Linked DNA regions of Homo sapiens: region 1 is linked to region 2. The links are contacts of gene promoters, found by promoter capture Hi-C in blood cells and fetal thymus (Javierre and others, 2016). All regions are on one chromosome and are shown on one strand. The core of a region is centred on a gene start or on the middle of the fragment in contact, and the rest is flanking DNA. Distances in the headings are between cores, read along the strand shown. Region 1 overlaps TIGD3 (tigger transposable element derived 3). Region 2 holds the start of KCNK7 (potassium two pore domain channel subfamily K member 7).

Region 1 (6,387 bases), core at 3,243-5,742, 240 kb after region 2:
TTCACAACGCAGCTCACAGGTCATTTTCCTGACTACGCACCCTGTCACTCTCTCTGACATCATTATTTTATTTTCATCTTGACACCTTTCGCTGTCTGAAATGACTGTGCTCATGGGTTTAATGTCTGCTCTTGCTCTCCCTCTTCTAAAAAGTAAGGGCCTTGGCTGGGCATGGTGGCTCACGCCTGTAATCCCAGCACTTTGGAAGGCCGACTCAGGCTGATCGCCTGAGGTTGGGAGTTCGAGACCAGCCTGATCAACATTGGAGAAACCCTGTCTCTACTGAAAATATAAAACTAGCCAGGCGTGGTGGCGCACGCCTGCAATCCCAGCTACTCAGGAGGCTGAGGCAGGAAAATCACTTGAACCCGGGAGGCGGAGGTTGTGGTGAGCTGAGATGGCGCCACTGCACTCCAGCCTGGGCAACGAGAGCAAAACTCTGTCTGAAAAAACACAGCAAAACAAAACAAGACAAAAAACAAACAACAACAAAAAAAGTAAGGGCCCTGACAGACGGGATCCTCTCTGTCTTGTTCACCATTGACTTTAAGGTCCCAGAACAGGGCCTGAGCCACAAGCTAAGCATTCGGGAATACTGCTTGCACGAGCAGATGAAGTTACCTGCAATTGGGAAATGTCTGCCATATGATAGCGATTCAAGGAAGGAAGAGATTAATTATGGCTCTTTTTAAAAAGCTCCGGGAAGAGGCCAGCTGTACAGCATTGTGTTATATTCTGCTACTTTGACAGGAGTGGGACACCTGAGGACAGAGAGCTAATCTATCTGCTCTCTGTTGCTTTGGTAAGACCTGTAGAGATTGTGTATTTTTTTATTTTTTTAAATGGAGTTTTGCTCTTGTTGCCTAGGCTGGAGTGCAATGGCGTGATCTCGACTCACCACAACCACCACCTCTCGGGTTCAAGTGATTCTCCTGCCTCAGCCTCCTGAGTAGCTGGGATTATAGGCATGCGCCACCACGCCCGGCTAATTTTGTATTTTCAGTAGAGACGGGGTTTTCTCCATGTTGGTCAGGCTGGTCTCGAACTCCTGACCTCAGGTGATCTGCCCGCCTCGGCCTCCCAAAGTGCTGGGATTACAGGTGTGAGCCACCACGCCCAGCCTGTAATTTTGATTTCAACATTTAGAAAGAGATATAGGGCCAGGCGCAGTGGCTCACGCCTGTAATCCCAGCACTTGGGAGGCCGAGGTGGGTGGATCACCTGAGGTCAGGAGTTTGAGACCAGCCTGACCAACATGGAGAAACGCCATCTCTACTAAAAATACAAAATTAGCTGGGCGTGGTGGCGCGTGCCTGTAATCCCAGCTACTCTGGAGGCTGAGGCAGGAGAATCACTGGAATTTGGGGGCAGAGGTTGCAGTGAGCCAAGATCGCGCCACTGCACTCCAGCCTGGGCAACAAGAGCAAAACTCCGTCTCAAAAAATAAATAAATAAAATAAAATAAAAAGAGATATGGGCTGGGCGCAGTAGCTAACGCTTGTAATTCCCAGCACTTTGGAAGGCCAAGGTGGGCGGATCACCTGAGGTCAGGAGTTTGAGATCAGTCTGACCAACATGGAGAAACCCTGTCTCCACTAAAAATACAAAATTAGCCCGGCGTGGTGGCGGGTGCCTGTAATTCCAGCTACTCGGGAGGCTGAGGCAGGAGAATTGCTTGAACCCAGGAGGTAGAGGTTGTGATGAGCCAAGATCGTGCCATTGCACTCCAGCCTAGGCAACAAAAGCAAAACTCCATTTCAAAACAAACAAACAATAAATAGGCCGGGCGCAGTGGCTCACGCCTGGGTAATCCCAGCACTTTGGTAGGCCGAGGCAGGCGGGTCACCTGAGGTCAGAAGTTTGAGACCAACCTGACCAACATGGTGAAACCCTGTCTCTACTAAAAATACAAAAATTAGCTGGGCATGGTGGCAGACACCTGTAATCCCAGCTACTCAGGAGGCTAAGGCAGGAGAATCACTTGAACCCGAGAGGCGGAGGTTGCAGTGAGCCAAGATCGTGCCACTGCACTCCAGCCTAGGTGACAGAAGGAGACTCCATCTCAAAAATAATAAAATAAAATAAAATAATAAAATAAAATAAAATGAGATACATCAGAACTGGAAAGGTTTCAGAAAAGAACAATTTATATGAATTCAGGGTAGAAAAAATAGACTTCTGTGAGGAAAGGCTAAATGATTTGGGATCTCAGCCTAGAAAATGATAGGCCCGCAGGTGGCTTCATAAGTGTTTGAAAGGGAGTTGTTAGTTCGAGCTGCCAGGTGTGGAGTTGGTCAATTAGGACAACGAAGCAAGCTGAAAGTAACACAAAAGCTTCTTTTCATTCACTAAAACCTACAAGCAAGGGGCAAAAACAGGCCCCAGCTCCCCAGCGTTCCATTTTACAGAGCAGCACGGGACAAGGGTCAGACAGGAACAGTCTCATCGTCAAGGAGTTTCAGAATAAAAAGAATAAAAGCTCCTGCCTTTTTACAGACCTGACCTGAAGTGGGCTGTAGGGAGGCAGGGGAGAAGGGCTGAAATGAGAAGTACTGAGTCAAAGCGGAGAAAGGATAGAATGAGAGGTACTGCGTCAAAGCGGAGAAAGGATGGAATGAGAGGTATTGAGTCGAAGCGGAGAAAGGATCTCAGTCATTGCTCCCAGTAAGGAGGTCTTGGTAAAGGCTGTTGGAAACTGCCTCAGCCCAGGTCTCCAAATGGAGGTGCCCAGCTAGGAATGCAGGTGAGCTTAGGAACAGGGCAGTCTGGGGGCCTGGAGTCCTTGACTGCAACTCTCTCCGGAAACCTGCAATGCACAGGCGATGCACCAAGCTGGGGTGAGAGAGCAGCTTCCCTCCATGAGGACTGCCAGGCAAAAGTCTTGTGACTGCCAATGGTGAAGCCTGAAAGGTCACCCTTAGGATTTTGGCCTGGAGCCCGTATTTTTATTTTATTTATTCCTTTTTCAAGAGGGAGTCTCGCTCTGTCGCCCAGGCTGGAGTGCAGTGGCGCTATCTTGGCTCAGTGCAACCTCCACCTCCCAGTTCAAGCGATTCTCCTGCCTTAGCCTCCTGAGTAGCTGGGACTACAGGCGCTCGCCACCACACCTGGCTAGTTTTTGTATTTTTGATAGAGACGGGGTTTCACTATGTTGGCCAGGCTGGTCTTGAACTCCTGACCTCAGGTGATCCACCCGCCTCGGCCTCTCAAAATGCTGGGATTACAGGCGTGAGCCACCGTGCCCAGACAGTATTTTTATTTTATTTTTTTATTTTTGAGACGGAGTCTCATTCTGTCACCCAGGCTGGAGTGCAGTGGTGCGATCTCCGCTCACTGCAACCTCCGCCTCGTGGGTTCAAGCGATTCTACTGCCTCAGTCTTCCAAGTAGCTGGGATTACAGGTGTGTGCCACCACGCCTGGTTAATTTTTGTATTTTTAGTAGAGACAGAGTTTCATCATGTTGGCCAGGCTGCTCTTGAACTCCTGACCTAAAGTGATCCACCAGCCTCGGCCTCCCAAAGTGCTGGGATTACAGGCATGAGCCACTGTGCCCGGCCTGCAGCTTGTATTTTTACCAGCTAGAGTCTATCTGCGTCCAAAGCCCATATCCTTTCCAGGTAAAACCATTTTCTTTTCTTTTCTTTTTTTTTTTTTTTTGAGTGAGTTTCACTCTTGTTGCCCAAGCTGGAGTGCAGTGGCACCATCCTGGCTCACTGCAACCTCCACCTCCCGGGTTCAAGCGATTCTCCTGCCTCAGCCTCCTGAGAAGCTGGAATTACAGGCATGTGCCACCACGCCCGGCTAGTTTTTATATTTTTAGTAGAAATGGGGTTTCACCATGTTGGCCAGGCAGGTCTTATAAACTCTTGACCTCAGGTCATCCACCCACCTCGGCCTCCCAAAGTGCTGGGATTACAGGCGTGAGCCACCGCGCCCTGCTGGTAAACCATTTTCTTTACATCCTACTCCCAGGATCTGGCTCACGCTTCACCTTCTCTCACCTGGATCAGTCAGAGGCTCTCTGCCTCTAGGTTTCACATCTTTGACACACCCTACACAGACTCCGTTATTCTAGAACCCCAAGAATGACTTGTTCCTGCCTACCTAAAACCCTCTGATGGTGTCCTACCCCTAAGCCTGGTTGGCTAAAGGCCCTTCCTACTCTCCAGGTCTCTCCTTGTACTCTGCCCCTACCTCCGCAAGTATGCTATGCTCTGGCAGAACTGCCTGCCCCCGCCCCCAGCACACTGTGCTCCTTCACTCCAATCAGACTCTGCACACGCTGTCCCTTGGCCTGGGACGCCCTTCAAACTGCAGCTCAAAGCTCACCTCCCCCTGGAGTCTCCCTAGCTCTATGGGGCCAGGCACTTTGCACAGCCGTTATCACAGCCTTAATCACACTCCACTGTCATTGGCTGCAAGGTTCTGTCCAGAAGAGACATCATCTTTGCAACCTTGTTCACATAGGAGGTCTTGCTGAAGTGATGTTGTGAAATAAGCAAATGAAAAAAAAAAAAGAAAGAATGAATGACTATTCCATTCCAATTCCGGCTCCTTTCTGTTTCCCTGACATGTCCGTAGCCTGCCCAACCCCAAACACACACAATCTGAGAGCGAAACTATTGGAGCTGCAGCTTATCTGGGGCAGTAGCTGGGATCTGTCTGTCCTGGAGCTTCCCTCTCAGGAGGGTAGCCCACAAGCAGTGCCCACACCCTGAGAGTCCTTGCTGCTGAATATCTGGAAAAGGAGGATCCCTACTGGTCATGGACAGACAGCTGCACCGCAGTGACCATCAGCAATTAATTTTCCAAATCTGAATGGAAAATGTTTACCCTTCTCCCATGAAAATAACACCCTGGCCTCTTTTCTGATTAAAAACTTTATTTTCAGAAGCAGAACTGTTTTTAACACAAAGTTCAAGGAAGCAGTCTGTCCAAAAAGCCCAAATTCCACCTTTCTAAGTGGCTGCCTCTAGACTAACTCCCTTTCAAAGGCTCTAGAACTTTCAAGCAGGGTCTAGAAACTAAGCATCCTGGATTCCTACCCCCGAAGCCCCATCTTTAGAGCTCTCTTCCTGGGGTTTGGACGACTGCCACTCCAAGCTCAGACTTGGTGTCCCAACTTCTCTCCCTTCTACACCTTTACGACAGTTCTATTTCCACAGGAAAGAGACAGCCCGATCTGCCTTCTGAAGAGGCCGTTTCCATGGGAAACAAGAGAGGAAGGGGCTCTGGCAAGCAGTGAAGGCGCCTTCATAGGCAGCAAAGCCGCTCCACCTCCTCCTCACAGTCGTAGAATTTTTCGAATAGCTCAGGAGAAGTGCTGTTGCATTCAAACCACCTCCTCAAGGTGCCCAGGGCCCGGAGGGCATCAGCTTTGGTGGGCAGGGGCTCAAAGGCACCCTCTCTGTCCCCCTTCTCGTCTTCAGTGCCTATCTCCTCCTTACATACTCCAGACCTTGGCTCCTCACCCTCCAGGTCCACAAAGCGGGAAAACTCCTCCAGGCTCAGCCCGCCGGGGACTGGTGGCATCTCAGAGGTTTTGTGCGAGGACGGGGGCGTTTTGCCGGGAGCCAGCCCTTCTTGAATGAAGCTGCTGAAAATGAGCTGAGGAGGCACCTTGGCCCAGGCGGCAGACGCCACGTGCAGGGCGTCCAGCACGGTGATGCCTGCCCCGGCCTCGGCCAGCGAGGTGCCATCCCTCTCGCTTTGGATGGCAGCCAGTTTGCCCAACAGCCGGTGTCGGTAATGGGCCTTAAAGGCCCGGACCACTGAGCTGGGCAGGGGAGGCGTGGTGCTAGAGGCGGCCAGAGGCAAGAGCTTCACGTGGTAGAGCCCAGGCAGGCCTGCCAGCTCCTCCACCACTCGGGCAGCCAGCAGCAAAGCCACCTGTCGGCCCTGCTGTCCCATGTCCCGGTCAAACTGTGCCAACCACTCTAACCAGGGGATGCCCAGGTCCGGGTGGTAGGAGGCAGGCAGAGCCTCACTGCGGATCCCAAAGAAGCATCTCGGGGCAGCCTGGAGCCCACCCAGCAGTACCCGCCGCTTCTCGGTGCCCCTGCTGTTGGCACACAGCAGCACCTGTACTTGATCACATGCACCAAAGCTGCCGGGCACTGCCCGATACAGCAAGGGCAATTCAGCACAGCCAAACACGTCCTCTGGAGAGAAGTCTTTTAGGGAAAGAGGCAGCTGAGCCTGGGATGTGAGCCCCGGGGGAGGTGGCTCAGGGGGGAATGAAGGCGCAAGAACATGGCGGGCCCCAAAGCCGACGTTGTTTCGGCGTTTCCAGCGGACCAGCCAGCCGATGCTGGGCACGAAGTCCTGGCCCATGATATCGGCCAGCTCCTTGGCTTTGTGGAGCAGCATGGGCCCCGTCACGTCCC
Region 2 (7,146 bases), core at 3,026-5,525:
CACTGTGACCTGGCCCCAGCCTGCCTCCACTGGGACTGCCCATCCATCTTTCGGGTCTGGGGTCGCTGGCTGCCATTGGGCTTTGCTGCCGCTTCCTCCACCTGCACTGCCCTCCCCTCCCAGTGCCCATCTTGTGAAAGGCCAGAATGTGGGTATGTGATGGGGAGGCCATGGGACCTGTGGGACCAGGGAAGATGCTAGTAGAGGGCAGAACTCAGTCCTTGTTCCAAGACCACGGAGAGGTCTTGGGCCCTCACCCGGAATATGCACCAGCCACACCCTCACCTGTGCCGCCTCTGCCCGCAGGTAACCCCCCGCGGCCTAGCCTGGAGCCCGAGGAGCCCAAGAGGCCTGTCCCCGCAGAGCGCGGTAGCAGCTCTGGGACGCCCAAGCTGATCCAGCGGGCGCTGCTGCGCGGCACCGCCCTGCTCGCCTCGCTGGGCCTTGGCCGCGACCTGCAGCCGCCGGGAGGCCCAGGACGCGAGCGCGGGGAGTCCCCGACAACACCCCCCACGCCAACGCCCGCGCCCTGCCCGACCGAGCCGCCCCCTTCCCCGCTCATCTGCTTCTCGCTCAAGACGCCCGACTCCCCGCCCACTCCTGCACCCCTGTTGCTGGACCTGGGTATCCCTGTGGGCCAGCGGTCAGCCAAGAGCCCCCGACGTGAGGAGGAGCCCCGCGGTGAGTGGCCTGAAGCCGGCCTGCTTCACATATGGGAGACGGGGGTTCCCAGGGAGGGAGGAGTGGCTGGTGGGGACATGCAAGGAGGCAAGGCCGAGACCACAGTCATCAGCTGGACCCTGAACCAGGCATTCGGGGTACTGAAGACGCATGTAGGGAGCAGAGTTCTAAGTTCAGCTATCAGGTGGTCCAGGCAGGTGGGGGCGATGCCTGCTGTGAAATAAAAGAAGTAATCGGGCCAGGCAGTGGTGCACGCCTGTGATCCCAGCACTCTGGGAGGATCACGTGAGCCTTGAAAGGTTGAGGCTGCAGTGAGCGGTGATCATGACACTGGACTCCAGCCTGGGCGACACAGCATACATGTAATCATAATCGTAGCAAACTCCTGGCTCCTTACTTGTGCCAAGTACTGTTTGCAAGGCTTTCCCGAGATGGTCTCATTTAGTCATAACAACCAGAGAACTAAGCGCTCCTGGATGCCCATTTTTAGATGAGGAAATTTAAGGCACAGAGATTAAGGGACCCACAGCTCCCACAGCTAGTAAGTGGCAGGGCCGGGATCCACATCCAGGCCAGCCTGCTGCAGAGGCCTCACTCCTAACTATTACAAAAAACAGAGGCACCACGGAGCAGGAAGGGCGGTGGAAGTTGAGTCAAGTAGGTCACTGTGCACATGGGGAAACTGAGGCCCAGAGCAGGACAGTGTCTTGGGGACCTCAGCAGTTGGGGGTTGCTTGACCCTGTGCCCCTCCTATATCCTCACAGGAGGCACTGTCTCACCCCCACCGGGGACATCACGCTCTGCTCCTGGCACCCCAGGCACCCCACGTTCACCACCCCTGGGCCTCATCAGCCGACCTCGGCCCTCGCCCCTTCGCAGCCGCATTGATCCCTGGAGCTTTGTGTCAGCTGGGCCACGGCCTTCTCCCCTGCCATCACCACAGCCTGCACCCCGCCGAGCACCCTGGACCTTGTTCCCGGACTCAGACCCCTTCTGGGACTCCCCACCTGCCAACCCCTTCCAGGGGGGCCCCCAGGACTGCAGGGCACAGACCAAAGACATGGGTGCCCAGGCCCCGTGGGTGCCGGAAGCGGGGCCTTGAGTGGGCCAGGCCACTCCCCCGAGCTCCAGCTGCCTTAGGAGGAGTCACAGCATACACTGGAACAGGAGCTGGGTCAGCCTCTGCAGCTGCCTCAGTTTCCCCAGGGACCCCACCCCCCTTTGGGGGTCAGGAACACTACACTGCACAGGAAGCCTTCACACTGGAAGGGGGACCTGCGCCCCCACATCTGAAACCTGTAGGTCCCCCCAGCTCACCTGCCCTACTGGGGCCCAACACTGTACCCAGCTGGTTGGGAGGACCAGAGCCTGTCTCAGGGAATTGCCTGCTGGGGTGATGCAGGGAGGAGGGGAGGTGCAGGGAAGAGGGGCCGGCCTCAGCTGTCACCAGCACTTTTGACCAAGTCCTGCTACTGCGGCCCCTGCCCTAGGGCTTAGAGCATGGACCTCCTGCCCTGGGGGTCATCTGGGGCCAGGGCTCTCTGGATGCCTTCCTGCTGCCCCAGCCAGGGTTGGAGTCTTAGCCTCGGGATCCAGTGAAGCCAGAAGCCAAATAAACTCAAAAGCTGTCTCCCCACATGTAGCCTGTCACCTTTCTTGGAGGTAACCAGGTGACCCAACCTATCATACAACCCTGGTGTCCTGATGCCCCAACAATAGGCAGTTGGATGCCTTGTACTGCATGCCTCTCCTGGGACCAAATCCACCAGCCTTGGTCAGTCATTCAAGGCTCTTCTCGGCCAGGTGCAGTGGCTCACTCCTGTCATCACAGCAGTTTGGGAGGCCGAGGCCGGCGGATCACATGAGGTCAGGAGTTCAACCTGGCCACATGGTGAAACCCCATCTCTACTAAAAATACAAAAATTAGCCAGGTGTGGTGGTGCATGCCTGTAGTCCCAGCTACTCTGGAGGCTGAGGCAGGAGAATTGCTTGAACCTGGAAGGTGGAGGTTGCAGTGAGCCAAAATCACGCCACTGCACTCCAGCCTGGGCAACAGAGCAAGACTCCGTCTCAAAAAAAAAAAAAACAAAAAACCATAGGCCGGGCATGGTGGCTCACGCCTGTAATCCCAGCACTTTGGGAGGCCGAGACGGACAGATCACAAGGTCAGGATTTTGAGACCAGCCTGGCCAATATGGTGAAACCCCGTCTCTACTGAAAAAAATATATATATATACAAAAATTAACCAGGCGTGGTGGCAGGTGCCTGTAGCCCCAGCTACTTGGGAGGCTGAGGCAGGAGAATAGCTTGAACCCGGGCGGCGAAGGTTGAGTGAGCCGAGATTGCACCACTGCACTCCAGCCTGGGCGACAGAGCGAGACTCCATCTCAAAAAAAAGAGTAGTAAGTTCCACCCACCTCCCAGTATGGTGACTTGCCATGGCATCTGGCACCCCTGACAGTTCTCTTCACACTGCCATGGGGGCTCTGGCACTCCCACACCATACCCTAGGGCAGGGTCCCTCCCTCGGCCTCTGTCCATTCTCTTCACACTGCCATGGGGGCTCTGGCACTCCCACACCATACCCTAGGGCTGGGTCCCTTCCTTGGCCTCTGTCCTCAGCCCCTCTGACGTTAGAGGAGTTGGAACCCAGGCTCCCCCTTCCCCTCTCCCAGGTGCCCCATGGCAGCCCAGACTCTGTGTCTGCAGTTCAGGGGCAGGGAGTCAGGAGGGCAGGCACAAAGCGTTCTCAGGAAGAACTGGCAATCGGGCGCAAGGGTATCATCTGCCCGGGTGCTCTGGGCACCCTGGAGTCCTCTCCCCACCTCCCACCCCCACCTGATCCTTCCCAGCTGCCACCATTCCTCTCCCACCACACCACCCAGGCCAAAATCACTCCATCCATGACGCCTACAGTAGCCCAGCGTAGGTCTCCCTGGACCACATTTATCCTCAAGGGCCTGTGTCCTTATCCCCCCTTCACCCCCAACTCTCCCCTGCCACAGCCAGCCCTCTGTTCCTCTCACACCCCAAGCTCATTCCTACCTTCACTGGCCTCTTACTCCCCAGCTGAAATATCACCTCCTTAGCAGAGCTTTCCCAGTGAGATAACCCCCCCGCTCCCCGCAGAGCTCTCCCATCACCCAGGGTGTTTCCTTCATGGAACTCATGACAATGTGAGGTTGCCATGTTTCTTTGCTAAGAGGTTTCTTGTGTAAACACCAGGAAGGAAAGGACCTGTGCCTGTCCTCTTCCCTAAGCACTTGAATGAATGAATGAATGAATGAATGTGGTATGGGTGCCTGAGTGAGCAGGACCTTGAATAAGTGTGAGGTCCTCTCTAGGCTTCAGCTTCCTCCGCCTCCTCCCCTCACCGCAGCCGCCTTCCTCCACCCATCCCCACCATCCCAGCTGCTGTGAAATGGGCAAATGTCTTGCCTCCAGGACCTGGGAAGGGTGATGCAGCTCACCTCCCTCCTGTTCACACCCCAGCCACCCCAGCCATCCCAGCCGGGTCCCAGCCACCCACACAGCACCTCCTCCTGGCCCCGCCCTGCCCAGCCCCTCCCAGGTGCCTGAGGTGGAGCCGCCAGTTCCCACAGCACCCCAGCGGCCTGCCATGGGGGGTCTAAGGCCCTGGTCCCGATACGGGCTCCTGGTTGTGGCCCACTTGCTGGCCCTGGGGCTTGGGGCTGTGGTGTTCCAGGCCCTGGAGGGGCCTCCTGCATGCAGGCTTCAGGCTGAGCTCAGGGCAGAGCTGGCAGCCTTCCAGGCAGAGCATAGGGCCTGCCTGCCACCCGGAGCTCTGGAAGAGCTGCTGGGCACTGCCCTGGCCACCCAGGCCCATGGGGTCTCCACCCTGGGCAACAGCTCAGAGGGCAGGACCTGGGACCTTCCCTCAGCCCTGCTCTTCGCTGCCAGCATCCTCACCACCACAGGTAAGAGAGCCAGGCAGCCAAGTCGGGGGGTGCGGCTCCAAGAGGCCATGGCTCCCTGGGGGCTTTGGGGTTCATGCAGCCCTTCCTTCAGCCCCAAAGAGCCAGATGGAGCCCAGGCCCTGTGAGGCCTGACATCACAGCTGGGGCTCCCCACCAACACACCCCAACTGGTGCCTCCACTTCAACTGCCAGGAAGGGTGTGGCCTCCCCAGTCCCACCCCAGGCACCCTTTGAGACCCAGGAGAGCTGCCCAGATGCCACAGCCTGTGGCCAGATAGGGGATACAATACAGTGGGATGGATTCTTGGATGGAAGCAAATAGAATGAACCTGGGAAGGACAGATCAGGACCATGGCCTCGGGTGGGGGAGTGAGGGAAGATAGGGGAGGAAGTCGGCATGAGATGCTTGTGGATCAGGAGGGCACAGACAGGGATGAGGGAGTCCTGCAGAGAAATCGCGTGGGCACAGGCCCAGGGAAAAGCAGCAATGAGACCCACAGCCCTGGGTTTTCGTATTTTTTGCCCCACAAAGTGTCTCAGTATTTTTTGAATTGGAATTTGTATTTCCAACTTTTTTTTTTTTTGAAACGGTGTCTGACCCTGTCACCCAGGCTGGGGTGCGGTGGTGCGATCTTGGCTCACTGCAACCTCCACCTCCCGGGTTCTAGCAATTCTCCTGCCTCAGCCTCCTGAGTAGCTGGGACTACAGGCATGCACCACCATGCCCGGCTAATTTTTGTGTTTTTAGTAGAGACGGGGTTTTGCCATGTTGGCCAGGCTGTTCTCAAACTCCTGACCTCAAGTGATCCACCTGCCTCAGCCTCCCAAAGTGTTGGGATTACAGGTGTGAGCCACTGTGCCCAGCTCATATTTCCAACTTCTTTTGGAAAATCAGGAAACCCACTCACACTGAGCCAGAATCCCTGCAAGGCAACATCCTGACTGGAGCAGAATGGGGCCTGCCCTTTGGATACAGCTCACACTTTCCAGTGTACCCCTGTCCCCACCACTCCTGTTTGTCTCCCATCTGGCTCCGGTAGGCATGTGCGTTTGCAGCTCTGTATTAGCTGATCCTGTTCTCCCAGCACACCCCGCACTCCCACCCCTCCCCGCCTGGCACATGCCCTCTCTCGCCCATGCTGCCTCTTTGCAGCCCTTCATGATTTGCCTGCCCGACTCCCCCACCAGAAGGGGCAGGGCCTGGGCTGATTCAGATCCCAGTACAAAGCCTGGCACACAGGACATGACACACATTTGGGGAAAGAGTGGATGATATTCCACCAGCTGTGGAATCGGGAGTATCTGTTAAGGGCAGCGCAGTTCTCAGAATTGTCCCAGCTACAAAAGGCCTGAGGAACTGTCTTCTTTCATCCTTTCATTTTCCAAAAAAGAAAAGAATGGCCTAGAGAGGGTAAGGGATCCCCTGACGAAGAGGAGCAGAGCCAGCTAGAACCTGGGCCTGGCCAGTTCAAGGCCACCAGAGGGCAGCCTTCTGCGGAAGGCAGTATTGGGGTAGGCAGGGACCCCAGCAGACATGGCACTCAGAGCTCTCACTGTCCACTGACTCTCTCTTCTCCAGGTTATGGCCACATGGCCCCACTATCGCCAGGCGGAAAGGCCTTCTGCATGGTCTATGCAGCCCTGGGGCTGCCAGCCTCCTTAGCTCTCGTGGCCACCCTGCGCCATTGCCTGCTGCCTGTGCTCAGCCGCCCACGTGCCTGGGTAGCGGTCCACTGGCAGCTGTCACCGGCCAGGGCTGCGCTGCTGCAGGCAGTTGCACTGGGACTGCTGGTGGCCAGCAGCTTTGTGCTGCTGCCAGCGCTGGTGCTGTGGGGCCTTCAGGGCGACTGCAGCCTGCTGGGGGCCGTCTACTTCTGCTTCAGCTCGCTCAGCACCATTGGCCTGGAGGACTTGCTGCCCGGCCGCGGCCGCAGCCTGCACCCCGTGATTTACCACCTGGGCCAGCTCGCACTTCTTGGTAAGTCCAGCCACCTAACAGCGTGTGGGGGAAGGGGGAAGAGGAGCCTGGACTAGGACTCCCATAAATCACTGGGGGGCTGGGCCTTGCAGGTGGAGGGACCTCACTCCAGGGCACGGCGTGGGAGGGGTAGTCGAAGAGCTCTGGTGGCAGCGTTGAGAAGGGGGTGAGTGGTGCCAGTTGCCAGGGCAAGTCACTGCGCTGGGAGGTGGGCGGGGAGCATCACCAGAACCCAGGCGCTGCCCCAGCACCTTCTCCTCCCCAGGTTACTTGCTTCTAGGACTCTTGGCCATGCTGCTGGCAGTGGAGACCTTCTCTGAGCTGCCGCAGGTCCGTGCCATGGGGAAGTTCTTCAGACCCAGTGGTCCTGTGACTGCTGAGGACCAAGGTGGCATCCTAGGGCAGGATGAACTGGCTCTGAGCACCCTGCCGCCCGCGGCCCCAGCTTCAGGACAAGCCCCTGCTTGCTGAAGCGTCAGGTGACCGAGTTCAGCTCCGTAAGGTGGCGGCACCTGAGGAGGAAGCAGCCAGGAGTGGCTGGGGAAGA

Evidence for each region. Contacts are between HindIII fragments. The CHiCAGO score rates a contact against its expected background, and 5 or more counts as called.
Region 1: a contact is called between a fragment that was not itself captured here and the fragment with the promoter of KCNK7 in region 2, in 9 of 17 cell types (neutrophils, activated CD4 T cells, total CD8 T cells and 6 more). The highest score is 8.4, in neutrophils.

What each region holds. Positions count from the first base shown.
Region 1 is chr11:65,356,092-65,362,478 of GRCh38, reverse strand. It overlaps TIGD3 (tigger transposable element derived 3), which reads right to left. Exons shown (of 2, transcript NM_145719.3): 2 at 4,866-6,387. The coding sequence ends at 5,255. Among named protein-coding and RNA genes, the nearest start is that of TIGD3, 4.5 kb to the right of the region's middle. The HindIII fragment of the contact is 4,312 bases long and covers 2,337-6,387 here.
Region 2 is chr11:65,592,929-65,600,074 of GRCh38, reverse strand. It overlaps KCNK7 (potassium two pore domain channel subfamily K member 7), which reads left to right and starts at 4,275. Exons shown (of 3, transcript NM_033347.2): 1 at 4,275-4,621; 2 at 6,201-6,599; 3 at 6,865-7,146. The coding sequence starts at 4,303. The coding sequence ends at 7,070. MAP3K11 (mitogen-activated protein kinase kinase kinase 11) reads left to right here. Exons shown (of 10, transcript NM_002419.4): 9 at 307-681; 10 at 1,447-2,318. The coding sequence ends at 1,784. The HindIII fragment of the contact is 15,508 bases long and covers 1-7,146 here.